2 separate regions of the Homo sapiens genome follow, and region 2 is linked to region 1. The links are contacts of gene promoters, found by promoter capture Hi-C in human tissues and cell types (Jung and others, 2019). All regions are on one chromosome and are shown on one strand. The core of a region is centred on a gene start or on the middle of the fragment in contact, and the rest is flanking DNA. Distances in the headings are between cores, read along the strand shown. Region 1 has its middle 10 kb from the start of GLT6D1. Region 2 holds the start of OBP2A (odorant binding protein 2A).

Region 1 (6,479 bases), core at 2,520-5,019:
ATGAATCCAGGAGGTGGAGCTTGCAGTGAGCCAAGATCGTGCTAATGCACTCCAGCCTGGGCGACAGAGCGAGACTCCATCTCAAAAAAAAAAAAAAAAATGCAGACACAGAAGAACATAAAAAGACTAGACTGGCCTAGCCTCCCAGCCTACATCTTTCTCCTGTGCTGGATCCTTCCTGCCCTTGAACATCGGACTCCAAGTTCTTCAGTTTTGGGACTCACACTGGCTGTCCTCACTCCTCAGCTTGCAGACAGCCTACTGTAGGACCTTGTGATTGTGTAAGTTAATGCTTAATAAACTCCCCTTTATATGTATATATCTATCCTATTAGTTCTGTCCCTCTAGAGAACCCTGACTAATACACCTTGTTTCAAAAATGACCTTTAAATAGCCTTTGAATTAGACAAAAATTATTTCCTTTTCATAAAAACACATTATTTTTCAGAAAAATGTTTTCTCCTATAATCAAATTTTTGTTAAAAAAATTGGAAACGATACAGACATTTAACAAATATTATTTAATTTGCTATAACTTTAGATTTTAAATTCTATGATGTTTATTTGCAAGCATTTAGTCCATTACACTTAATTAATTAATTTTTAATAGTTTGCCTAGATTGCTTATGAAAATTATGATAGTCAGGTAAACCAAAAGTAAAATTGTAAGCCCCCCAACCATCCGATTGGACCTGTCCTCTCTGCCACATGCATTCCAAAGTTAACCTGAAAAACTAGCTCAGGCCAAGATGGGAAGAGGGAGTTGGACATACCTTATTACCATCAACACAGACCTTCAGACTGAGAGGACAGACGCTTTAAGTCTGATAAGAAACATTTACAATCTATTCTCTCTGAAACCTCCGCCTGGAGGCTTCACCTGCGTGATAAAACTTTGGTCTCCACAACCCCTTATCGTAACTCAGACATTCCTTTCTACTGATTTCAGGTCTTTAGGTAATAACCAACTGCTGATCAGAACATCTTTGCATCTGCCTATGACTTGGAAGGCCCCATTTCCAGCTGTCTGGCTTTTTCTGGACTGAACCAAGGTACATCTTACATGTATTGATTGATGTCGTATGTCTCCCTAAAATGTGTGAAAAAGTTGTGGCCCAACCAGCCTGGTCACAAGTCATCAGGACCTTCTGAGGCTGCGTCATGGGTGTGAAAGGAAAATCTCTTGGGCCCCCCAAATCACTAAGCTAAAGGGAAAAGTCAAGCTGGGAAGTGCTTTGGGCAAACCTGCCTCTCATTCTATTGAAAATCATCCCTCGGCTCACTGGGTTAAATACATATTTGATGTCTCCTTTGGAGAGGCTCATCAGAAACTCCAAAGAATACAACCATTTATCTCTTATCTACCTATGACCTGGAAGCCCCCCTCCCAGCTTCGAGTTGTCCCGCCTTTCCGGACTGAACTAATGTTCATCTTACGTATGTTGATTGATGTCTCATGTCTCCCTAAAATGCATAAAACCAAACTGTGCTTGGACCACCGTGGGCACCTGTCATCAGGACCTCCTGAGGCTGTGTCGTGGACAAATGTCCCCAACTTTGACAAAATTAACATTCTAAATTAAATGAGACCTGTCTCAGATTTTGGGGGCTCACATGGCATGTCCTTAACCTTGGCAAAAGAAACTTCTAAATTCATTGGGACCTGTCTCAGATATATTTTGGCTTACAGTCATCATTTAAAGTTATTTCCTTGTTGACCATTTTTATAGCCAGTGAATTTCAGGTGTTTACCTAAGTAAGAATCTTAAGGTTAAATAAATGAATTTTTTGGCCAATAACACAGGATTTACTGTTTTTATTAAATTAACATTAGACCAATAAATCTAAATAATAATGTATGTTGACAATTCTGAAGACATTTCTAATTTTATTTTACCAATTATTTTAAAGTTAGGTTATTTATTAAAGATTTACTGAAGTCATATGAACTTGAAAAGTATTTGCACTTATTTACTTAATTTATTGGCACTCCTTTTTTTTTAAGCCAATTTGGTACCTTGTGGTCACAACACATAACAAAACACACGCATGCACACATAAACACACCTAAGCATGCACGCGCGTACACACTCACACACATGCACACACACCACACGCACACACACATGCACACACTGACACATTTGCACACACACTCGCACATGCACACACCACACATGCACACACTCGCACACACAAAACTCACATGACACACACGTGCACACACACTCGCACACACCACACACTCGCACACGCACATGCATACATTTGCGCACACACACACCACACACTTGCACATGCACATGAACACATTCACATACATGCACACACACACTCGCACACACACCACACACATGCACACTCACACACACACTCGCACAATCACACATGTGCACGCGTGCGCGCACACACACACACAAATAAAGGTCCCATAGCTTTTGCCTTGGAATTCCAGCCAGGAGGTACCAATGCAAACTCACCAGTTTACAAAAGAACGGTTGGATGTGAATAGCGGTTTTTATCTTCGACACCAGCAGAAAGGTCCTTTAAACTAGAAAAAAAATATGTTTCATTGAGCAAAAACCACATCCTCATGTTTTTTAAATAAACTTCACCAAAAATGCATCTTACTTTCCTACTATTCTCTTAGAAACCCTAATTTCCAGCAAAAAACCTAGGATGACTTAATTTAACACAACATGACTTTAAGATTTTCAATTACTGGAGAGAATTGTGAGATTACATTTACCAAATTAATCTTACCAAAGATTACTAAAGTCATGTGAGCTGAAAGGCCTCTGGGCTAGCTTCTATTAGTCTACAAACACTTACTTTTCTTTAAGCCAACTAATTAGAGCTCTTTCATATGATTGGTAGTGAAATATTGTTTCCATGTGACACATAAACACACAGACTTAACAGACACAGACAGAGGCAAATCTTAGGGATTTAAAATGTTTCACTTGCCTGTTTTCAAAGTTTTTTTCTTCCCTACTTTATACCACTAATCTCTTGATTATCTATTCCATGTCTTAAACAATTGTTAACTAGGTAACTCTAAATTTACATCTCCAAATACATGACTTAGGTGAAGCAAGGTAAAAAATGTACATCTCAAAGGCACAGACTTGGATCTAAAAAAGGCAAGGTCTGTTATGTAAATGAAGCCATTGTCTCCCCCTTAGTTAAAGTTCCTAGTGGTTTAGACGCAGAGACAGAGATGTCCTTACAAAATGGAAATTTCCTTTAAAGACATAAATTTCCTTTACACAGAATTTTATTGAAGTGACTTAGTTTGATAGGTAGTATTTTCAGCGGAGCTTGATTAGGTCACTGGCTTTAGGGTGGAGCCCTCTAAGGAACAGAGCCAAGAAAGCATGCACAATTTTCTGATCTAAATGTGCAATGAGTGGCCCCCTGTAGTAATGACCATTTCCTGTAAACTGTCCTCAGCCTTCCCTAACGTTGTAGCTCTCATCTGCCATGACACACACCAAGGTCAAATATTCTCACAGTACAGAGTAATCTCTGGTATCTCTAAAAGTCAAAGAAGTCAAGTAATGCAATACAGGAAAGCAGAACTTTAGACCTAAGAAAAACCTGCCATGACTCTGAAAACTCCACACAGAAAGCAGAACACCCCCGCACAGGGTGAGTGGTGCCTTTATTCTGAGTTATTTAAGGATCCAAGTCATTATGATACAGGAGTGAGAAAGAAATTCAGGCAGATAAGGAGGGTAAGAGAGTCCTCAGCAAGGTTTCCTTTTAATAAAAAGCAGCCCCCAATCATTTCTTTCCTAACAAAAAGCAGCCTGAAAAATCAAGCTGCAAGTATAGATAAACAAGCTAAAAGCTTACATAGGTAAATGCTAGCAGCTGTGGTGATAGAAGAGGGATACCTGGAAGCCAAGTCTGTTCAACATGAAGGATCCCCCTTCCCTTTTCTTGGTCGCCACCTGTGTGGTAAAAGGCAGGCAATATGACACTGGCCAGGTAGAGACCCCATCTGGATAATAAAAGATTAGGGTGGGTCGGCCAGCTTCTTTGTGCACTATGCAAATGGCATGCCTAGTCTGACCAATCTCTCATGTCCTATGTAAATCAGATATTGCCTCCTCAAGCTCGTCTATAAAACCTCGTGCATTTCACCAAGGACCTGGAAGACCCACTCAGACGCCCCTCTCTCTCCGCAGGTGAGAGAGCTATCCTCTTTTCTCTTTCCTTTGCCTATTAAGCCTCTGATCTTAAACTCACTTCTTGTGTGTCTGCATCCTCAACTTCCCTGGTGTGAGATGACAAACCTCAGGTATTTACCCCAGACAACAACGCCGCTTCAATTAGAACCCTTCTGTAGACATTTTTTTCACTTGGTACCAAAGATGGCAAAAGGGCTTCCCCTTTTTGGGAGAAATAGGGTGGAAGAAAAATAAAAGAATAATTTTTTAAGAAAGGAAGCACACAGAGAAATCAAGTGAATGTTTTTTTTTTCTCTTTTGCAGCTTCAAGGAATTTTAGCCAATCCAGAGGGCTTGTTACCCATAGTGTGGAATTCTCATTCAGATTTGGCCAAGTCAGGTAGAGATGGTCAAATCCAATGGGAGAAAGACCAAAACGACAATGAAACCAAACTATATTGTTAGAAAAAAATGCTTGGTGCTGCAAAGAAAACCAGGCAGAAAATTTCTCAGCAAGGCACATTTACTTCTGCAGAAGGGTGCTGCCTGCATCAGTCACAATCGCAAGAGCACACCAAGCTGGGAGGGCAGGGGTTTTTACCCCTAATGCAGTTCCTGTTTCTGTGTCCTTTCCCCATTGGCTGATGCAGTTCCTGTTTCTGTGTCCTTTCCCCATTGGCTGGAGTTGGACTGCACAGTCTAAACTGACCCGATTGGCTAGTGTTTGAAATTGAATAAGGCCAATTATGCGGGAAGGGAGAGGCTGTTCCTTACCAACTAGGTGGGAAGAGTTGTTTACAGAGTAAGAGGTTTGCAGGTTACAGATTAAGCAGAAAAACAAGTGCTCATTACAGATTAAGCAGGAAGGGCTGTGTACAGAGCAAGAAAGACCAAAGAAGCTTTGAAGAGGAACTTATAATTTCTGGCAATATGATTACTGAGCTCTCTAATGGAAGCAGAAATGAAGACCAGGCGGTGGTCAATCTTAACTTTTAGTCATGAGGGAGAATTTTCAAGACAAAACTCCAATTCAGCTACTTACCTAGAAATGGGGCCCAGGCTGAAGACTGCTCTCTACTGTCTCAGAAACAGGAAAAGTCCCAAACTCGCCTTCCCTGTTGGAATCGAGCTGAAACTCCAGAAAAGGAGTTGCTCAGCAAAAGAAACCTCAGATCTCAACCGAATGTTGGGAGATCAGGGATTCTCTGGGGTAGAAGGGGATACTCCTGGACTTCAGCAAATCGGACTTCAGCAAATTGTCCTATTAATTTGAGCAATAAAGATAGCCCAAACTGATACTGAGCATCGATAGGAGTGTCTGCAAAAAGAATCAAACTTGGTAAAATATTTGAAGGGATTTATTCTGAGCCAAATACTAGGGACCATGGCCCATGACACAGCCCTCAGGAGGGCCTGAGAACATGTGCCCAAGGCGGTTGGTTTTATACATTTTATACAAGCTTGGTTTTATGCATTTTAAGGAGGCATGAGACATCAATCAAATACATTTAAGAAATACATTGTTTTGGACCAGAAAGGTGGACAAAGCAGGTGCTTTCAGGTTATAGGTAAATTTAAACATCTTCTGGTTGACAATTGGTTGAGTTTGTCTAAAGACCTGGGATTATAGAAAGGAAATATTCAGGTTAAGATAAAAGATTGTGGAGACCAAGGTTGTTTTAGAGTCTTATAGTGGCTGCCCTTAGAGACAATAGATGGCAAATGTTTCCTATTCAGATCTTTAAAAGGTGCTAGACTTTTAGTTAATCTCTTTAGGATTGGGAGGGCCTGGAAGAAAAAGATCTAGCTATATTAATTCAGATTATTTAGAGATGCAAATTTTCCCCCACAAAGGACAACTTTACAGGGCCATTTCAAGATATGGCAAAGAAACATGTTTTGGGGGTCAAACATTTTGATTTTCGTCCTTGTCTTACAATGTTATGCCAGAGACAGGTTGGAAAGTAAGTCACAATATATAGGGTGAAATAAAACCCAGCTAATGACAATTTATGATTTGTATGGCATGACTCCCCAGGTCCCTTAGATAGGAATTTGGGCATGATAAAAAATCAGTTTAAGGAGAATAGCTTGAACCTGGGAGGCAGAGGTTGCAGTGAGCTGAGATCGTGCCACCGCACTCCAACCTGGGTGACAGAACAAGACTCGGTCTCAAAAAAAAAAAAAAAAATCAGAGTTTAGTCCTCAGGAGATTTGTCAAAGGACCACCTCCACTCAGAGTTCCTTCTGTTGGTCACAATTTGTAAGTCAAAAAGTATCTGAGACAGGTCTTAATCAATTGAG
Region 2 (6,479 bases), core at 1,637-4,136, 100 kb after region 1:
AGCGCGGAGCCCCAGACCGCATCGCAGCCCAGAGTGCAGACCCTCCAACGACGAGGATGCTAAGCAGGGCCCAGAGCCCCTGCGAGGAGACTCGGGGCACACGGGGAATGCGGGGGACATGGGAGGACATGGGGGTCATGGGACACTGGAGATCACACAGAGACACAGGGGAACACGGGGTACTGGGCACAGCCGTCCTCACCCGTCTGCAGGGGCATGAAAATGTCCTCCTCCGAGAGTCCCTTGTGCTGCACCAATTTCTTAAATTCTTCCAGGGCCTCCAGGTTGGTATTAGGATTCCTACCTGCAGGTGAGGTGGCCAGGTGAGCCAAGGTGGGGACAGCGGCACGGCCCTGCAGGGAGCAGATGCTAAAAGGAGACGACCACGGCCCAGCATCAGGACGGGGGAGAGGCCCGAGAGTGGATCAGAGCTCAGGGGTGGGGCTGGGGACAGAAGAGATGGCAACTGTCCAGCACCAGGCAAGGGGGAGAGGAGGCCTGAGAATGGACAAGAGCTCAGGGGTGGGACTGGGGACAGAGGAGACGGCCACCGCCCAGGTGAGAGGTCCCCAGGAAAGGGGACAGTGGCAGGGTCCAAGCCACTCAGCAACCCCAGGGGGACCTGGGCAGCTCCCAAAGCCACTCTGCAGGGTCATAACCCTCACCTGGAGGGACCTTGTGTCCCAGAGGCACTGGCTGCCCTGCCGCCCTGGAGAGTCCCTGCCCCATGAAGAGCTCTGTTAAGATGCTACCTCCCCCTTAAGGTGAGGCCCCTACACCTGAGACCCCACAAGCGGCCCTTGGCAGGTTCATGTCACCGAGGGCCGTGTCTGTCCCTGCCTGGCCCACCCCACTCCCACTTCAGGAACTTGGACCAGCCATCCAGGGCAGCGCTTGGTGCCTAGCACACGAAGGCCGGCGCAGGGGGCTTCCTTTTCCCCCCGTGCCAGGGCGTGATGATGGTGGTTCCACTGGCTTCTGGAGGCAGAGACCATGGGGCAGGACATGCAGGCCCCAGCGGGCCCCTCACCCACAAGCTTTCCCATGTAGCGCAGGCCCCCACGGCGCTGGTCTTTGCAGTAAAAGACGTAGTCGTCCGTCCCGGGCAGCTCCTGCAGGTATATGAGCTTCCTGCCCCCATCTGTAGATGACAGAGAAGATGGGTCTTCAGTGCCCTCATTCCCGGAGAGAGCACTCAGGACCACACGAAGAAACACTCAGGAATGTTTCAGTGGTCACCCAGGTGCCCTGGACAGCCTGAGCCAGGCCTGGCTGCTCCGCACAGCATGGACCCGGACACGGAGGCAGGAGCCTCCTCTCGGAAGGTCCCAATGCAAGTAATGGAGCCACAAGGCCAGAGCACGTCCAGGACTAGAGTCCGGCCTTCCCAGCTCCAGCAGCTGCTCCTGCCCCACTTCCCTGTCCCTAACCCTCGGATTCCTGATCCCAAACCCTCAGCCTTGGCTTCCCATCCCTAACCCTCGGCCTCCTGGTCCCTAACACTCGGATTCCTCAATGTGTCAATGGCTAGGGCCTCCCAGAGGGCAGGCTTGATCTGGTCCATCTCTACTGTGGACAAGCCTGTCACACCTGGTGTCTGATGTCAGGGCCACCAGCCCCCCAGGAAGGAGAGGCCAGCCCCTCCTTGGAGGTGGGCAGGGCTGGGACCCTGGCAGAAGTGTGGCCTGGGCACTCTCCACCTGCAGTGGGGCTGGTGCATCCGGGGTTGGGCATGGGGAGTGGGGGGTCGGGGAGGGGCTCACAGGCGCTGAATTTGCCAGGCTCCTCCGTCTTCCGCATCAGGATTTTCTTCTGGATGCACCGATCCTCCCTCCTGGAAAACAGGAGACACTCGGGCAGCGGCTCCCAGGACACACCTGGCCCATCCTCAGCTCACCTGGTGCATGGCCCTGACCCGGCAACCTGAAAATTCCACTGCCCCCCCACCCCACCGAGCTTCAGGATGTCCTGGCTGTTTCCCTCCAAGGCAGGGGGTGACTCTTCCCAACACCCGAAATGTGGATGGGGCAATGGGCACCAGGTGGGTCTGGGGCGGGGAGCGAAAGTGGCCTGAGGGGCCCTGCAGTGGGCAACACTCACATGAAGGTGAACGTGGCTTCCAAGTTCCCACCGCCCAGGGCTGTCACCTTCACTGGGGACACCTTCCTGGGCCTCCTGTCCTCCGGAAAGTCCTTATCGACCACCATGGCCTTCACGTACCAGGTCCCTGTGATCTGGAGCAGGCCAAGGCCGTGAGCCCACCATGGGTGGCCCAGATTCTACTCTGACCCTGGCACTCAGGCCTGCAGCTATAACCAGACACCCATGGTGCCCGGCTGCCACCCCTAAAGGCAGGCTGGGTTCCTGCACCTTAGTTAGAGCTCAGCTGGAGTGAGTTAGAGCCAGCCCCCTGCTCAGGGCTCCCAGCCCCCAGTGGAAGGAGGGCATGTCTGCACCCCATGGACCCCCGGGCCCCAGCACCAGGTGAGCCCTCCCTCCACAGGGCCCAACCCTGCGAGACCTTCGGGCTTCAGGCGTCAGTGCAGCAGGAACCCCTGAGCCGAGCCTGCTCCGGCCCTGGGCCTCGGGGGGCCGTGTCTGCTGGAGGAACAATAGGACCCCTCCACCACCACCCCAGGCTGGGAGCACGGGGTCAGAAGCCAGCCTTCAGTGACACCTCCTAAAGCAGGGCCCCTGGCACTGCCCCCTGCCCAGGAGTCCACCTGGCTCCTCCATCCGCCCACGCCAACCCAGCTCACATCCTCCTCCTCCAGGGTGAAGGACAGGGCAGCGGCCAGGCCGAGCGTGACACCCAGGAACAGGGTCTTCATCTCCAGAGCTCTGTGCTGCCGACCTCGGCAGGTCACTGGGCGTCTGAACAAGGCTGTGCTGGCTCCTCTCGAGATGTTCTTTATAGCCCCCTGGCCAGTGTCCTGGGAGCACGTGGCACGGTGCACCCCTCCCCATGGTGGCAACCAGTCCTGCATCCGGGAGGGGGAGTGTCCTCATTGCTGGCATCTGGTGAACAGCAATTCAGTGCCAGCCAGAGAAGAAAAGACACACGATGCTGTCCAGGGTTTGCATCCAAATGCGCCCACTTGGATGAGCCCGGAGGACTCCAGAGGACAGGGCAGGGTAGTGCACGTCTGCACCCCGAGCCACAGAGGGAGGGCCCACGGCTCGGAATTCTTCCTCCCTCACCCCTGAGCCCTCCCAGGGCCACGGCTGGGACCCTGGGCAAGTCCTCTGGGGAACTGGCCATCTCCCTGCTGAGCAGAAATGGACTGGGCTTTAGAACCATAGAGACGTGGGGCTGCTGCCAGCTGAGTCCCGCACGCCCTAGAGCCCAAGCTTCCGCCCACTCTGGGACCCACTCTGCATTGATTTTCCCCACCTGGACCCTGCACTCGAGCTTCCTAGGGGCAGAGAAGGGCACTATTGTGTGGTTCAAGGTCAGTATATATACGGCCTCCTCGGGCCATATGAGGGACCCCGCCGCCTGCCCCACCCCGCTTCACTCCGTACCGGAGCCTGGCTGTGCTGTCCTCAGAACACGTGATCTCTCTGGATTGTCCTGCCTGTTTCTTCCTGCACGTGTTCATCATCCATCTCCCTGTTAAATACAAGTGGTAGAGTGGAATATACATTCACTCTACATCCCCTCTCTCGTCAGCTTCGACGGCCCCCAGCCACCGGGACAGGCCTTGAATCTCATCCCTTTAGATAAATGGGTGGCATGAGCATCAAGAGCCACCTGCCAGCCTGTGCTCAGAGTTTGTGGCTGAGCTCCCTTGGGCACCTGGCTCCGCTGGCCTCATCCCCAGCCAACCTGAGCCAGAACTTTGCCTTCTCCCTCCTGGACCCTGTAGTTCCCGGGCCTGCGTCATCTGCCCTGGGACCCAAGGCTGACCCACGCTCTGCAGGCAGGTGCTGGGCCCACACAATCTTTGTGCCTCTCTGGCCCAAGATCAGACACCCTCAAGTGCTTGCTAAATAATACTAATGCACACTCTAATAAACCCTGGGGGCTATAAAGAAAGGGCTGGCGTGACCCAGTGCCTCACCCCTCTCACGGCAAGTGCTGCCGAGCAGAAACCCCATCCTTAGGGCGGGGACTGGGCTCTTCAGGACCAGAGATGAGCAAACAGGCTGGAGTCTCTACCTCAACGGGAAGATTTCTCCGTTCCCCATTTTTGTTGCCTGTACCCCAGGCACCTTGTATTTCTTTTTTTTTTTTTTTTTTTTTTTTTGAGACGGAATCTCGCTCTGTCGCCCAGGCTGGAGTGCAGTGGCGGGATCTCGGCTCACTGCAAGCTCCGCCTCCCGGGTTCACGCCATTCTCCTGCCTCAGCCTCCCAAGTAGCTGGGACTACAGGCGCCCGCCACTACGCCCGGCTAATTTTTTTTTGTATTTTTAGTAGAGACGGGGTTTCACCGTTTTAGCCGGGATGGTCTCGATCTCCTGACCTTGTGATCCGCCCGCCTCGGCCTCCCAAAGTGCTGGGATTACAGGCGTGAGCCACCGCGCCCAGCCGGCACCTTGTATTTCATTGGTTGGTTGTGAATCATTGATTTAAGCACCGTATGACACTGGTGCTGCTGGCTCAATCCTTGAAGAAAATGCTGGAACAACACGCGCAGATGCTTCAGGGAACAGGTCACCCCCATGAATTCTATGCTCGCTGGTACGGGTGCTCTCCAGGAGCCTCCCATTGTCCACCCATCTTGCCCTGTGTCCCAGTCTCGTTCACCAACTGTGTTCTTTTAGATGCTGGTTGGGTTCAACTGCTGCAGACACCGTCAGGGGATGGTAGGGTTGGAGGCTGGGGGTCAACCCATGGCAGACAGCAGGGGCAAGATCCCTGGCCCCCAGTGCTTTGTGGCCTGGTGCGTTTCTCTGGATGGCTTCTGATGGTGGTTCCTGTTGGGTTGTTAAAAGTATTTAACAAAATTCAACACTCATTCGGGATAACACCTCTCAGAAAAATAGGAATAGAAGAGAACTTCTTTAACTTGAAAAAGAACATCTACGAAAAAAAAACCTATGGCTACATTATTTCTAATGGTGAAAGACTGATGTGTAACTGGCTCAAGTCCAGCTGCTCGCTGCTCAGAAGTCAAGGCATGAGAAGTGAGGTGTGGTAAAAGGAAAGCAGCTTTATTCAAATACTGGCAGTTGGGGAATGGCCAGACCCATGCCTTTAAAAGACCATTCAGATTTTCTGGACTGAGCGAAGGGGTTTAAGGAGGAAAAGGTGTGGGAAATATGTGGGAATGGTGCAGGAGGATGTTGGTCTGCATCTTGTTCTGATGGTTATTGTGAGTCATCAATCGTCTGTCCGGAGGTCTGGTTTGCGTCATCCTGATTTCAGCCGGGAAGTGGTAGGCTACCTGTAACTCCCCCTAAGAGGGAGGATTCTGCAGCTGGGTCTCTCTGCCTGGTTTGTTTCAAAATTGGCCCCTGGAATTTCTAAGTAAGCACATAATTAGATAAGCGAGCACTGCTCACGGAAGTGCCTGGTGGGAAAGGGAGAAATAAAGAGTTTCGAAGTATGTTTCAAGGCTGAAAGCAAGAAAGGAAAAAAGTTTTTAAGCACATTTTGAGGCTGGGATACTCAGTTACAAATGCTTTCTCTTTAACATCAGGGACAAGGCAAGGATGTCCACTCTACCACTTGTATTTAACATAGTACAGAAAGTTCTAGTCAGAGTAATATAGGTTTTTTAAAAAGGAAATTAAAGACATACAAATTGGAAAGGAAGGAAGAAAACTGCATCTGCAGATGACATTATTATCTCTGTAGAAAATCCCAAGAAATTGAAAAACAAAACAAAAGAAAACAATACACCTCCTAGAACTAGTAAGTGAGTTCAGCAAGGTTGCAGGACACAAGATAAATATACAAAGATCAATTGTGTGTCTACATACTAGTAATGGACCCTAAACTTAAAAACACAGTACTATTTATAATGGCTAAAAAAATGAGATGCCTAGGCATAAGTCTAACAACCCATATGCTGGATTTGTATGCTGAAAACAATGCAATGATTATAAAATAAATCAAAGAAGATCTAAACAAATGGAGAGACGTTATATCCATGGATTAGAAGACTCAACATAGTAAAAATATCATTTCTCTCAAATAATATAAAGATGTAACAAAATTTCTATCAAAATTCCAGAAAGAATTGTGGTAGATATAGACAAGATTATTCTAAAATTTATATGGAAAGGCAAAGGAACTGGAATAGCTAAAACTTTTTTAAAAAAGAATAAGGTGGGAGAAATCACGCTACTTTATTTTTGTTTTTATTTTTTTATATGGAGTTCACTCTGTCACCCAGGCTGGAGTGCAGTGGCACGATCTTGACTCACTGCAACCTCCACCTCCTGGGTTCAATCGATTCTCCTGCCTCCACTTCCCGAATAGCTGGGATTACAGGCTCTCGCCACCACACCCAGCTACAGGCTACCCTTT

The links. The method cuts DNA at HindIII sites, captures the fragments that hold promoters and counts their contacts. A contact is called where the count stands out against the background at its distance.
Region 2: the fragment with the promoter of OBP2A here is called in contact with a fragment that was not itself captured in region 1 in 2 of the 25 tissues and cell types used here (dorsolateral prefrontal cortex and mesendoderm cells).

The regions. Positions count from the first base shown.
Region 1 is chr9:135,646,376-135,652,854 of GRCh38, reverse strand. No RefSeq gene overlaps it. Among named protein-coding and RNA genes, the nearest start is that of GLT6D1, 10 kb to the right of the region's middle. The HindIII fragment of the contact is 6,544 bases long and covers 498-6,479 here.
Region 2 is chr9:135,542,533-135,549,011 of GRCh38, reverse strand. It overlaps OBP2A (odorant binding protein 2A), which reads right to left and starts at 2,886. Exons shown (of 7, transcript NM_014582.3): 1 at 2,760-2,886; 2 at 2,101-2,234; 3 at 1,764-1,834; 4 at 1,031-1,141; 5 at 203-304. The coding sequence starts at 2,831. The HindIII fragment of the contact is 6,727 bases long and covers 1-5,782 here.